2 separate regions of the Homo sapiens genome follow, and region 2 is linked to region 1. Evidence: promoter capture Hi-C in 16 types of primary human blood cells and fetal thymus (Javierre and others, 2016). All regions are on one chromosome and are shown on one strand. The core of a region is centred on a gene start or on the middle of the fragment in contact, and the rest is flanking DNA. Distances in the headings are between cores, read along the strand shown. Region 1 holds the start of HSPD1 (heat shock protein family D (Hsp60) member 1). Region 2 overlaps PPIL3 (peptidylprolyl isomerase like 3).

What was found. Contacts are between HindIII fragments. The CHiCAGO score rates a contact against its expected background, and 5 or more counts as called.
Region 2: a fragment that was not itself captured here is called in contact with the fragment with the promoter of HSPD1 in region 1 in 1 of 17 cell types (erythroblasts); the score reaches 5.4 in erythroblasts.

The regions. Positions count from the first base shown.
Region 1 is chr2:197,494,863-197,501,089 of GRCh38, forward strand. It overlaps HSPD1 (heat shock protein family D (Hsp60) member 1), which reads right to left and starts at 4,978. Exons shown (of 12, transcript NM_002156.5): 1 at 4,920-4,978; 2 at 3,813-3,988; 3 at 2,278-2,530; 4 at 432-514. The coding sequence starts at 3,986. HSPE1-MOB4 (HSPE1-MOB4 readthrough) reads left to right here and starts at 5,517. Exons shown (of 9, transcript NM_001202485.2): 1 at 5,517-5,577; 2 at 6,212-6,227. The coding sequence starts at 5,575. HSPE1 (heat shock protein family E (Hsp10) member 1) reads left to right here and starts at 5,517. Exons shown (of 4, transcript NM_002157.3): 1 at 5,517-5,577; 2 at 6,212-6,227. The coding sequence starts at 5,575. RefSeq lists silencers at 4,858-5,187, 5,378-5,437 and an enhancer at 5,578-5,637. The HindIII fragment of the contact is 3,758 bases long and covers 3,637-6,227 here.
Region 2 is chr2:200,866,409-200,873,145 of GRCh38, forward strand. It overlaps PPIL3 (peptidylprolyl isomerase like 3), which reads right to left. Exons shown (of 7, transcript NM_130906.3): 7 at 4,499-5,113. The coding sequence ends at 4,987. Among named protein-coding and RNA genes, the nearest start is that of CLK1, 5.1 kb to the left of the region's middle. The HindIII fragment of the contact is 1,414 bases long and covers 1,752-3,165 here.

The DNA.
Region 1 (6,227 bases), core at 3,728-6,227:
GAAGGGGAATTTACGTTATGGTAGTTTTCATGAAGTACTGGTTCTTTGCTCTTTTCCGATTCATTATTTGACTACATTGTTTTGAAGAATATGATACATAAAACTATTCTTGTAACAAAAAGTTTAAAAATGCTGACTTCATTACAAACTGACAAAACTTATGCACCTTTGACAATGGCTAAGAACATTTTCACAATCATATGAATCCATTTTACAGCCATGTAGAACTAAAATGACAACCACATGTAGAACTAAATGACAACCATTATGGTCATAATTCTTTTCAAAGGTTTTAGCAGTAAGAAACAATGATTCTAATATTGATGATTGGGTAGTATTGTTATTCTGACATTGGTGTGATCAAGGGAAAAAAAAAATCACACATGCCATTAAATTTTTTTTAAAAAACGTGTAACATGTTAAGTCCTTACCTGTGCAATTTCTTCAGGGGTGGTCACAGGTTTAGACTGCTTTTTAAGTTCAGCAATTACAGCATCAACAGCTAACATCACACCTAGTTCAACGATATATGTCATTACAATGTTTATTTCTCTCATGGCTTCTATGTCAAGTAGAAATCTTGAGATTTGTGACAAATATTTTAATGCCTTAACTTAAAAAAAAAAATTTTTTTTTTTTTTGAGACAGGGTCTTGTTCTGCTGCCCAGGCTAGAGTGCAGTAGCACAGATCATGGCTCACTGCAGCCCTGACATCCTGGGCTCAAGGGAGTAGCTGAGACCACAGGCTCAAGCCACCATGCTCAGCTTCTTTTATTTTTGTAGACAAGGTCTCACTATGTTGCCCAAGGTGGTCTTGAACTCCTGGGCTCAAGCAATCCTCCCACCTCAGCTTCCCATGTAGCTGGGACTACAGGCATGTACCTATGCTTGGTCTTTAGTGCCTTAATATTAAATTTACACACAGCTTCTGAGACAGTGCTTCTTAATAACACAGAGTTGCGTGGCATGTACTTAAACAGTAACTTTAGGTTCACACAGTAAATAAAATCTCACAATGCCAAAATTTTGAAAATAGGACTAAAACAAGGTAGATGTGTGTAGTTTCAAAAGTCTCACCACTGAACTCATCCTATGCAAATTCCTAACCCAATCATGCTGTTTCCAATAGGGTCCACGACACTTCTCATGTCCATTAGATGATGCAAAAAAGGACCAAAATGGCTAACACTCCCTTATTTTCAACAAGAAGTACAGTTCTTAAATGATAGGAATCTGTTGTGACTATGCCTCTGCAGGTGTCAATTATCTGAAATCCCCTCAATTTAGTACGTATTATGAACTAACAAAATATTTTTGTTTTACATCAGTCTTAATAGTCCCATTTTGCTCAATTGGGAATAGTGCTAGCTCTCTTGTTTGAGAACTGTTACTTCAAAAAAAATCCAATGCAAGGTGCTGGTAAGTCCTCTTCATAACCTTAATTAATACTTGTTAGTGATTTACAGTAAAACTGCTTTTAGTGAAGTATATTCACTTGGCCCATAAACACTGAAATAGATGAGGTAATGATACATTAGTAATGTAGTAATAAATTAGTATGCCAATTCTGACAAAAAATTACCAATAGCTCCCCCCACCTTCACTTACAAGAGGGTTCCTGGTTTGAACCCTAACATACCCTAGATATACATAGCAATTCTGCTGATAGGAAAACCAAGTCTTAGCACACAGCTAATAAATGACAAACATGGGACTAGAATTTAAGTCTATACTGCCATGAACCTCATGAGGAGGAGCAAATTGTTAATTAAGTTGCACTCTAGTTACAAGCACTAACAAAACACAAACCAATAACATGGTGTGTGCTATTAAGAAAAAATAAACTGAGGAAAACATTACTTTCTGACATTCTGAATGATCCAGTGTATTTAGTCTTACTTTCTACAAAACTAAACTAAAAATTAGCCAGGAATGGTGGTGAGTGCCTGTAGTAGTCCCAGCTACTTGGAGGCTGAGGCAGGAGGATTGCTTGAGCCCAGGAGTTCCAGTGCAGTCCAGCCTGGGCTACAGAGCAAGACCCTGTCTCTAAAAACAAAAGAAACCAACTAAGTAAAATATCAAAATTACCTAACAGTACCTACCCACCATACAGCCAAGCTTGCTAAAGGAAAACCCAGTTTAAGATTTCTCCAGGCCAAGAGGAGGAATGAGAGAAGGATTAATTTCCTCAAGTTAACACTTTCCTTAGGTCCAAGGAATCAATGCCTTAAAGCACACTGAAGTTTAGAACACTGTGGTGACAACAGACATTCCTACCTCTCCTGATTTCCACTGGATTAGCACCTTTGCTAATCTTCTCGAAGCCTTCCTTGGCTATAGAGCGTGCCAGTACAGTAGCAGTGGTAGTGCCATCCCCAGCTTCTTCATTTGTGTTATTGGCAACATCTTGAACAAGTTTAGCTCCAATGTTTTTGTATTTATCTTTTAAGTCAATTGACTTTGCAACAGTCACACCATCTTTTGTTACTTTGGGACTTCCCCAACTCTGCTCAATAATCACTGTTCTTCCCTAGAAGAAAAAAATGTAACAGGATCAGACATACCCTAAGGATGATTTACATTTTTAAAAATGAGCAGTCTTCATAATAAAGCAACTACTTCAAAGTCTCAACGTAAGTTGTGTCATTTTTATCAGTCTTGCAGCATGAACCTCAAGGGCAAGTTTATCGACATTCTTTGTCTACAGACAAAATGACCTGATTCTCTGCCAAGAGCATAATTTTGAACTAGGTAATTTAGGAGATTAAAATCCTAGGGACTAAAACTTGTCATCTTATAAAATGAACAAGAACACAAGACAAAGAATAAAACAATCTTCCTATCACTTATACTTTAGTTAGTGCCTGTTATCTTTTAAAGTAATGTGACTTGTTTTAAAATCCGTTTAACTAAAATATTAACCATCAAGGCAAGTAGCGTGCTCTTCCAGGTTCACGCAACATAAAACTTCAACCATGGCACAATTATTGGCCATCCTTTGGATTTGAACTAAAGCTGCTACTTTCTATTTGTGAGGTGTGCAAATGTTGTATTTTAGGCAGTTGTTGGATCACTTGATATCTGAACTGTCTTCAAACTGAAATGAAGCACCACTTGACTGCACACCACCTTCAAAGGCCTCCTCAAAACATTACCCCTATTAAATGAGACTTATTTTAAATATGCTTTGGAACAAGAGAACAGCAGAAAACCGATGGGTAAAACTAGCATCTTGGGGTGGAGGAGAGAATGGGAAGCTACTGTCTAATGAGTACAAAGTTACAATTTTTCCATATAAAAAGTTTTGGAGATGGATGGTGGTGATGACTGCACAACATAAATGTAATTGATGTCCCCAAAGTGCACACTTAATGGTAATTTTATGTTGTGTACATTTTACTACAATAAACCAAAAAAAAATTTAGCATCTACAAGCACATACCTAAGGAATTATGGAAGATAAGTTAAACTCTTCTCTCTACACTTGGCATGAACTACTGGGAAAGGATCCAAATTTTAACTTAAGCCAGCGAAATTCTACCTCGAGTTTAAGAATCCACCTTGAGCTGTAAGTTACTACCTGATTACATCACACATTGAACAAAATAGTTTCGAAAATCTGGCTGAAGCAGTTTAAGCTTTAAGATCATGTCTAAGAAAAAAAGGCTAACCAATACTTCAGAATTCTTACATGTAAACTGAGTTCTCTCAAAAATGGAGATGAAAGTACTGTTGAATAGTTCAGTGCGACTATTTGTGAGTAAAATGCTATTAATAATACCGTAATTACAATAAAATAAAAATACTGGTACCTTTGGCCCCATTGTAACGGCCACAGCATCGGCTAAAAGGTCTACACCTTGAAGCATTAAGGCTCGGGCATCTGCACCAAATTTTACATCTTTGGCATAAGCCCGAGTGAGATGAGGAGCCAGTACCCTGGACACCGGTCTCATCTGGCGAAAGACTGTGGGTAACCGAAGCATTTCTGGGGATGGAAGCAAAAAGATCATCAGAACTACCACCCGTGGTGCGCTGCAGAACAAACATGCCCACCTGTGCAACAGAGCAAGCAACGTGAGATGCTGAGCCTGGCTGACCTCCGCCAGCCACTACGCCTGAATGACGGAAGGCGCCGCAGCTTCGGAACATCAGCCACTAGCGCAAGCTAAAGAGGCCGCCCCGGCCGGCGCCTGACCTATAGCACCAGCACAAAGCACATGCGGCTCCTTCCCCACGGCCACCTATCCCTGCCGCCAAAAACGAGTTAATCTTTCACCGCGAAAACGGCCTTGTGGGCAGACCCACTCCAACTGTGGCCCCTGAGAAACCAAGTCAGCCGGAGAGAGGCAAGTTACAAATCCAAGTGACCAGGGAAGTTAAAAGTATTCCTGACGGTGCAAAAAGCCGCTCAGCAAAGTGTCTCCATGGATCCACCCAAGGCTACTGTATCAGAGCAACCAGCAAGGCCGCGATGCTGGGGGCGGCGGCCCGGCCCACTCGGCGCGAGCCCACGTGTCCTTCTTTCCGAACGCCCCCAGCAAGGTCAAGACTGGAGGCGCGGTATCCCAGCTGCCTGCGGGGGAAAAAAGCGGTTCCCTCACGTACACCACCCTCCCCGGTTCCCTGAAGTCGGCCAGGCGCAGGTTGCACCAGCGGGCCTAAGTGGTTACAATCCCCCAAATTCAAACCCCACGAGTTGTCCCTCCCGCGCCCAGCCGAGGTCCAGGATCCGCGTCGCACGTGATGGAACCCGCATGGACCCGCGAGGCCTGGACCCGCAGGCCTGGGCCTGCGGTGCGGCGCGGTGCGGAACTCCAGGTTGTCGCCGCCCGCACCCTCCAGCTGGACCGCAGAGGAGGAAGGCCCACTCGGGGGTCGCAGGAGCCGGGGGGAGGTGGTGCGGGAAGGCCGCGTACCTGCGGGGCGGCGGCAAGGCGTGCGCTCGGCGAGACAGGTCGTCGGCGGCGAGTGAGGGACAGAGTGCAGGGCGCACACCGCAATGAGCCCGTGTCCCCTCCCTCCGCCTCTACTCCCGCCCCGCGGCACCGCGTGTGCAGGCAGCTCCCACCCACTTCCCGTCAGCCCGGGCCCTGCAATCTGCACACCCTGCGCGCGAGCCCCGCCCCTCCCTACCCGCGCAGGGTGTGCTAGCGCGCTCAGCCCTCTCCGGCCGGCTTAGTCTAGTTCCCGGGCCTCGCTCGGTTCCAGAACTTTCCAGAAAATGCCGCGCTCCCTACGGCTCAAGGGTCAAATCGCGTCATTTCCGGGAGGGGACGAAGGGGTAGTTCTTTCACCTCGGCTGGGCGCCTAGAAAAGCCTAGAAACAGCTCCTTTTTTCTTCCGCCTCCGAGTCTTCGCGTCAGCGTCCTGCGCAGGGCCCTTGGGGCGAATCGCGGTGCGCGTCGGGGCGACCGCCCTCCCTCCCTGGGAGGGGCGAGGGGGCTAGCGGCGACCGCTGGGGCGAGCGCGCCTGCGCGCTGGGTGATTTTTTCACGTGTCGCCAGGGCCGGACTGCGAGTCTCTTTGCGGCGCTACACTAGAGCAGAGTACGAGTCTGAGGCGGAGGGAGTAATGGTGAGTCCCGCGTGGCCCCGAGGCCTGCAGGCCCGGGCCTGTCTGAGGCGTACGGGGATCCCTGACGCCCCTCTTTTGTTGGGCTGGGCGGGAGGGATTGGTGGCCACTCAGTGACCAGCGCCCGATGGCACCTTGGAGCGGCAAGGCCCGCCCGACCCTTTTCTCCCCCAGGGCTCTTTGCACGCGCGTGTGCTGCCGGTGTGTAAGGCAGGGGGGCGAGAACCCGGGCGCACGCGCAGCGTCTCACCTGCTTCTGCAGGGCCTTTGTGGATGTGTAATATCTTGGGTAAAAATCATGGTGCCAGGCAGGGAGCTTGACCCAGCGTTTCCTGAAAATTTCTGGAAAAACCTGAAGAAGGAAAACATTTGACCTTGGAATAAACTAAGGTTGACCTTAAAGCTGGTCTGGTTGCTCACCGGAGGAGCGACAACGACCCCTAACAGACGTAAGGAATCGGGAATTAAACTTGGAATATTGGTTAGTACATTCAAATGCGCTTCCTTAACGAATAAGCTGAGGTTTGGTGTTAACTTTCAAAGCCAAAACGTGTTGAGATGTATAGCACGGTGGCGTTGCCTGTTGATAATGTGATTACATTTAGTTTTTGTTTCAAAACATTTCTCTTCCTACAGGCAGGACAAGCGTTTA
Region 2 (6,737 bases), core at 1,209-3,708, 3.4 Mb after region 1:
CCAGCCTGGGCAACAGAGCAATACTCCGTCTCAAAAAAAAAAAAAAAAAAAGTGGCAAAACAAGGTCTGGCCAAAGAAAGGCCTTAATACTAAGTCTAGAAACTTAAATGATTAAAATTTTAAAAGTGAAACAAAATGTAAAGTCATTAGTATGCCGGGTGCGGTGGCTTACGCCTGTAATCCCAACACTTTGGGAGGCCAAGGTGGGTGGATCATGAGGTCAGGAGTTTGAGACCACCCTGGCCAACATGCTGAAACTGTCTCTACTAAAAATACAAAAACTAGCAAGGCGTGGTGGTGCTCACCTGTAATCCCAGCTACTTGGGAGGCTGAGGCAGAATTGCTTGAACCCGGGAGATGGAGGTTGCAGTGAGTCAAGATCGCGACATTGCGTACCAGCCTGGGCAATAGAGTGAGACTCTATCTCAAAAAAAAAAAAAAAAAAAAAGAATTGCTTGAACCCTGGAGGCAGAGGTTGCAGTCAGCCGAGATTGCGCCACTGCATTCCAGCCCAGGCGACAGAGTGAGACTCTGTCTCAAAAAAAAAAAAAAGTCACTAGTATAACTGGCACTGTTACGGTGGGTAGCTAGTCAGGTATGAACAAAGCAGGAGATGGCTCCCCCAAACACACACTAGGAGTGTCGGGCAACCATCAGGTGAGATGGTCAGGCGGTTATTAACTCTCTTGCTGAAGTAGTAATTGGTCACAGCTGGCACCAGGGAACGGCAGTCTCCTAATAGAAAACACCTGAAACTGGTGAGCAGCAGCTTCCCAATAAGATCTCAGGAGTTGGGCAAGTGGGGAGAAGTAATGCAAGACCTTGGAAGTATGCCAGTGTATAAAACGCCAAGTCAAAAGCTCAAGCCACACATTTATCTTTCAAGTCGCCCGCTTGGTCCTCTTCCAAGCGTACTTCCCTTTCTTTCATTCCTCCTCTAAAGCTTTTTAATAAACTTTCACTCTTGCTCTAAAACGTGCCTCACCCTCTCCTTCTGCCCCTCAGTCGAATTCTTTCTTCTGAGGAGGCAAGAATTGAGGTTGCTGCAGACCTGTACGGATACAGATTCGCTGCTAGTAAAAAGCACCTCAGTTTAGTGGAAGATATAAATGGTGACAAGAGGATAGCTGTAAGCTAACTCCAAACTAGTCAAGAAAGAATCAAAACATTAATTAGACCAGCCATTGGAAGAAATGAGACAAACCAAGAACTGATGCCAAGACAAACATTTTGAGACGGAGTTTTGCTCTTGTCACCCAGGCTGGAGTCCAACGGCACGATCTCAGCTCACCGCAACCGCCGCCTCCCGGGGTTCAAACAATTCTCCTGCCTCAGCCTCCCGAGTAGCTGGGATTATAGGCATGTGCCACCACGCCCAGCTAATTTTGTATTTTTAATAGAGACAGGTTTTCTGTATGTTGGTCAGGCTGGTCTCGAACTCCCAACCTCAGGTGATCTGCCCGCCTTGGCCTCCCAAAGGGCTGGAATTACAGGCATGAGCCACTACGCTCGGCTGGTATAAGTTTTAGGAACACCCAAATCCAACCACTGTGATCTAGGCAGTGGGCAGAATATGGTCTTGATGAAATCAGTGGTAGAACCCAATGAATGGCTTGATGAGGTGAGAGCCCTGTGGTGGACATGAATGTTAGGACAGCAGCTTCTACTTACTTACTACATGCCAGAAGCTTTACACACATTTAACCCTCACAATTGTCTTCTGAGGTATTATTTATGGATGAGAATACTAAAGCTTGAAGATGTTAACTTGCTTAAAGTTACACTGTAAGGGACACAGCTGTGATTCAAACACAGACCAGAACTCCACAAACTGGTGCCTTTAACTAGTTCATTGCATTTTTCAAATGGATATTCTGTAAAGCTCCACTCTTCAATATTTTCAGAGATATGCCTTATGTTCTCACTTGTAATATAACCAAGTATCCTAGCCTTGAAATGCATTTTAAAGTTTTTTTTTTCCTTTTTTTTTTGAGACAGAAGTCTCTGTTTCCACGCTGGAGTGCAGTGGTGCAATCTCGGCTCACTGCGACCTCTGCCTCCCAGGTTCAAGCAATTCTCCTGCCTCAGCCTCTCAAGTAGCTGGGACTACAGGCGCGTGCCACCACGGCCAGCTAATTTTTGTATTTTTAGTAGAGACGGGGTTTCACCATGTTGGCCAGGATGGTCTCGATCTCTTGACCTCATGATCCGCCTGCCTCAGCCTCCCAAAGTGCTGGGATTACAGGCGTGAGCCACCGTGCCTGGCCCTTTCTTTCTTAATTTCAGAATGTAGTCTTGTTAAAACCGTTTCCCTCCCTTTCCCGCCTCACACTCCCTTATACTATGCACATTTATCTAACTGTACACTTGTTAAACTTACACTATACACTCTTATCTATAGGGTCTTAACTCTCTTGCCCAGGCTGGAGTCCAGTGGCACGACCATGGATCACTGCAGTCTCTACTTCCCTAGCTCAAGCAATCCTCCCACCTCAGCCTTTTAAGTAGCTGGGGCTACCACATCCGGCTTTTTTTTTTTTTTTTTTTTTTTTTCAATTTTTAGTAGATTCAAGGTCTCACTACGTTGCCCAGGCCGATCTAAAACTCCTGGGCTCAGGTGATCCTCCCACCTTGGCCTCCCCAAAGTGCTGCGATTATAGGTGTGAGCCACTGTGCCTGGCCCATCAAGGGCTAATCATGACATATACCAGGCTTGGAGACCCAGCTGCAAAATTCCAGAGATTACCTTAAGGTGGTTAGTCAACAACCCAGCCATTGTTGAGATGATGCCAGCCCCCACTCCAGGTGGACCACAACTCAAGATAGCCACTACAGCAAGCCACAGAGATCTGAAACCCTGCACCACTCCCGCATGCCTCCCATTCTAAGTTCCCTTTTTAAGCACCTCTCCCCAGCCTAAAGTTCAAAATGATTTCTTTAAGGTACTAGCTTTGGCCATTTCCCCACTGCTAGCTCTGGAATAAAGTCACTTTCCTTTTCCTGCATCTCCTCCTTGTTGTTGACTTTGCAAGTGGCGTGCAGCCCAGCCTGCATTCAGTTACAATAAATGGGAGCTAAATCTTGGATTCACATGGACAAAAAGATGGGAACAGTGGACACTGGGGACTCCAAAAAAGGAGGAAGGGGCAGGGGCAAGGGCTGAAAAGCTTCCTTTTGGGCACTATGTTCACTGTCTGGGTGACAGGATCAGTAGAAGCCCAAACCTCAGCACCATGCATTATACACTTGTAACAAACCTGCACATGTACCTGCTGAATCTAAAATTAAAAAAAAAAAAGATATGCCTTAAAAAATGTCCATGAGCAGGCCGGGTGTGGTGGCTCACGCCTGTAATCCCAGCACTTTGGGCGGCCAAGGTGGACGGATCACCTGAGGTCAGGAGCTCACGACCAGCCTGGCCAACATGGTGAAACCCTGTCTCTACTAAAAACACAAAAAAACAATAGCTAGGCATGGTGGCAGATGCCTGTAATCCCAGCTACTCGGGAGGCTGAGGCAGGAGAATCACTTGAGCCCGGGAGGCGGAGGTTGCAGTGAGACGAGATTGTGCCATTGCACTCCAGCCTGAGTGACAAGAGTGAGACTATGTCTCAAAAAAAAAAAAAAAAGTCCATGAGCAAATCAGTTGGGAAATGTTGAGTGTTTACTGTATTCCAAGACATCTTTTTTTTTTTTTTTTTTTTGAGATGGAGTCTCCCACTGTCACCCAGGCTGGAGTGCAATGGCTCGATCTTGGCTCACTACAACCTCTGCCTCCCGGGTTCAAGTGATTCTCCTGCCTCAGCCTCCCAAGTAGCTGGGACTACAGGCACCCGCCACCATGCCCAGCTAATTTTTTATATTTTTAGTAGAGACAGGGTTTCACCATGTTAGCCAGGATGGTCTTGATCTCCTGATCTCGTGATCTGCCCATCTTGGCCTCCCAAAGTGCTGGGATTATAGGCGTCAGCCACCACACTCGGCCTCCAGGACCTCTGAGAGCCTTTACTGTAAACCTAAAGATCACACCTGTAATCCCAGCACTTTGGGAGGCCGAGGTGGGCAGATCATGAGGTCAAAAGATCAAGACCATCCTGGCCAACATGGTCTCTGTAAACCCCGTCTCTACTGAAAAAAAAAATACAAAAAGTAGCTGGGCATGGTGGTGTGCACCTGTAGTCCCAGCTACTTGGGAGGCTGAGGCAGGAGAATCACTTGAACCTGGGAGGCAGGGGTTGCAGTGACCCGCTGCACTCCAGCCCGGGTAAAAGAGCAAGACTCCGTCTCAAAAAGAAAAAAAAAAAAATCAGAGAAAATAGCAAATGGATTGGCTGGCCTTTCCAGACTAACTTTTTATCCTGTCCCTCCTCTTTCTAACTGTATAAAGTGAATAATTAATGGTAGAGCTCTTACCGTTAGTATCAGTTTCAGGAATACCCAAATTTTCAGATTTGGGGATACTTGCATATACATAATAAGATATCTTGGAGATGAGACCCAAATTTAAACATGAAGTTCATTTACGTTTCATATATACCTTATACACATAGCCTGAAGGTAATTTTACACAATATTTTAATTAATTTGTCCTACGATTTAATTCTTTAAAACTTTTTAAATTTTATTATAAAATAACACTTCCAGGATACGGACTTGCTGTGGGAGGAATATGTAATCAGGCCACTCAAAAATGCCTGCACTTGAGGCTGAGCATTTAAAAATGAATGTTCATATGTAACAAAAATTAAATGATGTATTTTTTGTATTAAAATTAAAGAAATATGTTGGATAATCATTATAATAAAGAATATGCTCTAAGAATGGGGATAAAAGCTGTTGGGCGCCCCTTGGTACCACCATTTCATAGAAGATCATAGTTGTAAACAAGCAGAAGGATGATGCAATCTCTGACATAATTAAAACCGGGTAAACCACAATAAGTGTGTTCCAGCAATTTGTCAAGTTATTTGTCCAGGTCTATCATAGCTACTGAGCAAATGGGTTGGCATGAATAGTTATGTCCTTAATGTGTACATCATTAAGAGGTCGGTATGTCTTCTCATTTACTGGCAACTTCTCCAACTCATCTAGAGTTTCCAGACCATCTATTACCCTGAAAGAGAAACAACATAACATATGAAAATTTCCTTAAATTGAAACATGATATCCATATCTATGACAATTACAGTCTCCTTAAAAAATAATCAAGTCTTACAGATCTCTGAGTTCTCTAGTTGAATGTACAACAAAATGTTGATTTTCCATCATAGATATGGATCAAAATTCAGAAATAATTTACTTTTATGCCCTTAGTCAACAATACAAAGGGTAGGAATATTTCCACCATAGTACCTAAAATTATATTCTACCCCATTCATACAGTGACAGAGAACAGCTACAAATGGGACTAATATAACCAGTTAAAGGGAAAACAAACTGTTTTTCTACACTTTCATACTTCCAACACCAAATGTGTGGGTTTTCCCAGTTCTCCAATTCTCTGGGTATCCCACAACTTGATTATTTTTTCAAAATTTTATTTAATTTTTTAAAGACAGGATCTCACTGGGACTACAAATGCATGCCCCCACACCTGGCCCTATAATTTAATTGTGACACTAACTACAAGGAGTGAACAGAGACCCCGGTTAATCCCACAAGACAGCCCCTACCACTTCGGATGCCAGTTCCAAGTCCCGATTGTGATCTGTACTATCTGACTAACCATGATATAATTTGGGATTTTTCATGCCCCCCAGCTCTGTTCAATAATTTTCAAAAATGGCTCATAGAACTTAGGAAAGCACTTTATTTATTACTATGGGCTATTATAAAGGTTACAACTCAGGAACAACCAAATGGAGGAGATGCATAGGGCAAAGTCTGAGAGAGGGGCACAGCGCTTCCATGCTCTTCTCGGGGTGTGTTACCCTCTTAGTATCTACTTGTGTTCACCAACCTGGAAGCTCTCAAACCCTGTTTAGGGTTTTTACGGAGGGCACATTAGGTAGGCACGATTAATTAAATCACTGGCCACTAGTGACTGGAACTCAATCTCCAGCCCTTCTCTCCTTCCCAGAGGTCAAGAATAGGAGGTCACTGAATGTTCCACCCCTCTAAAAATACATGGCTGATTCCTCTGGCAACCAGCCCTCCATACTGAAGCTATCTAGAACCCCACCAAGAGTCACCTCATTAGCATAAACTCAGGTATGGTTGAATGGGGTTTATTATGAACAATAAAATATTCCTTTCACTCCTGTCACTCAGGAAATTGCAAGGTTTTTAAAAGAACTATGCTGGAAACCACGGATGAAGTCCAAATATGTATGTCTTATTACAACACACTAGTCATAAAGATTTCTTTGCTACAGGAAATACATGGAGAAAGTATGTAGATGACACTATTAGCAATACTGCCCTACAATGAGAGTCCTAAAGTAGGTGACCACTCCACTTTGTACTTGTTTTTTTTTTTTTTGAGATGAAGTCTCGCTCTGGTCCCCCAGACTGGAGTGCAATGGTGTGATCTCGGCTCACTGCAACCTCTCCTCCTGGGTTCAAGCAATTCTCCTGCCTCAGCCTCCCAAGTAGCTGGGATTATAGGAGCCTACCACCACGCCTGGCTAATTTTTGTATTTTTAGTAGAGACGGAGTTTCAGCATGTTGGCCAGGCTGGTCTGGCCTGACCTCAGGTGATCCGCCCGCCTTGGCCTCCCAAAGTGTTGGGATTCAGG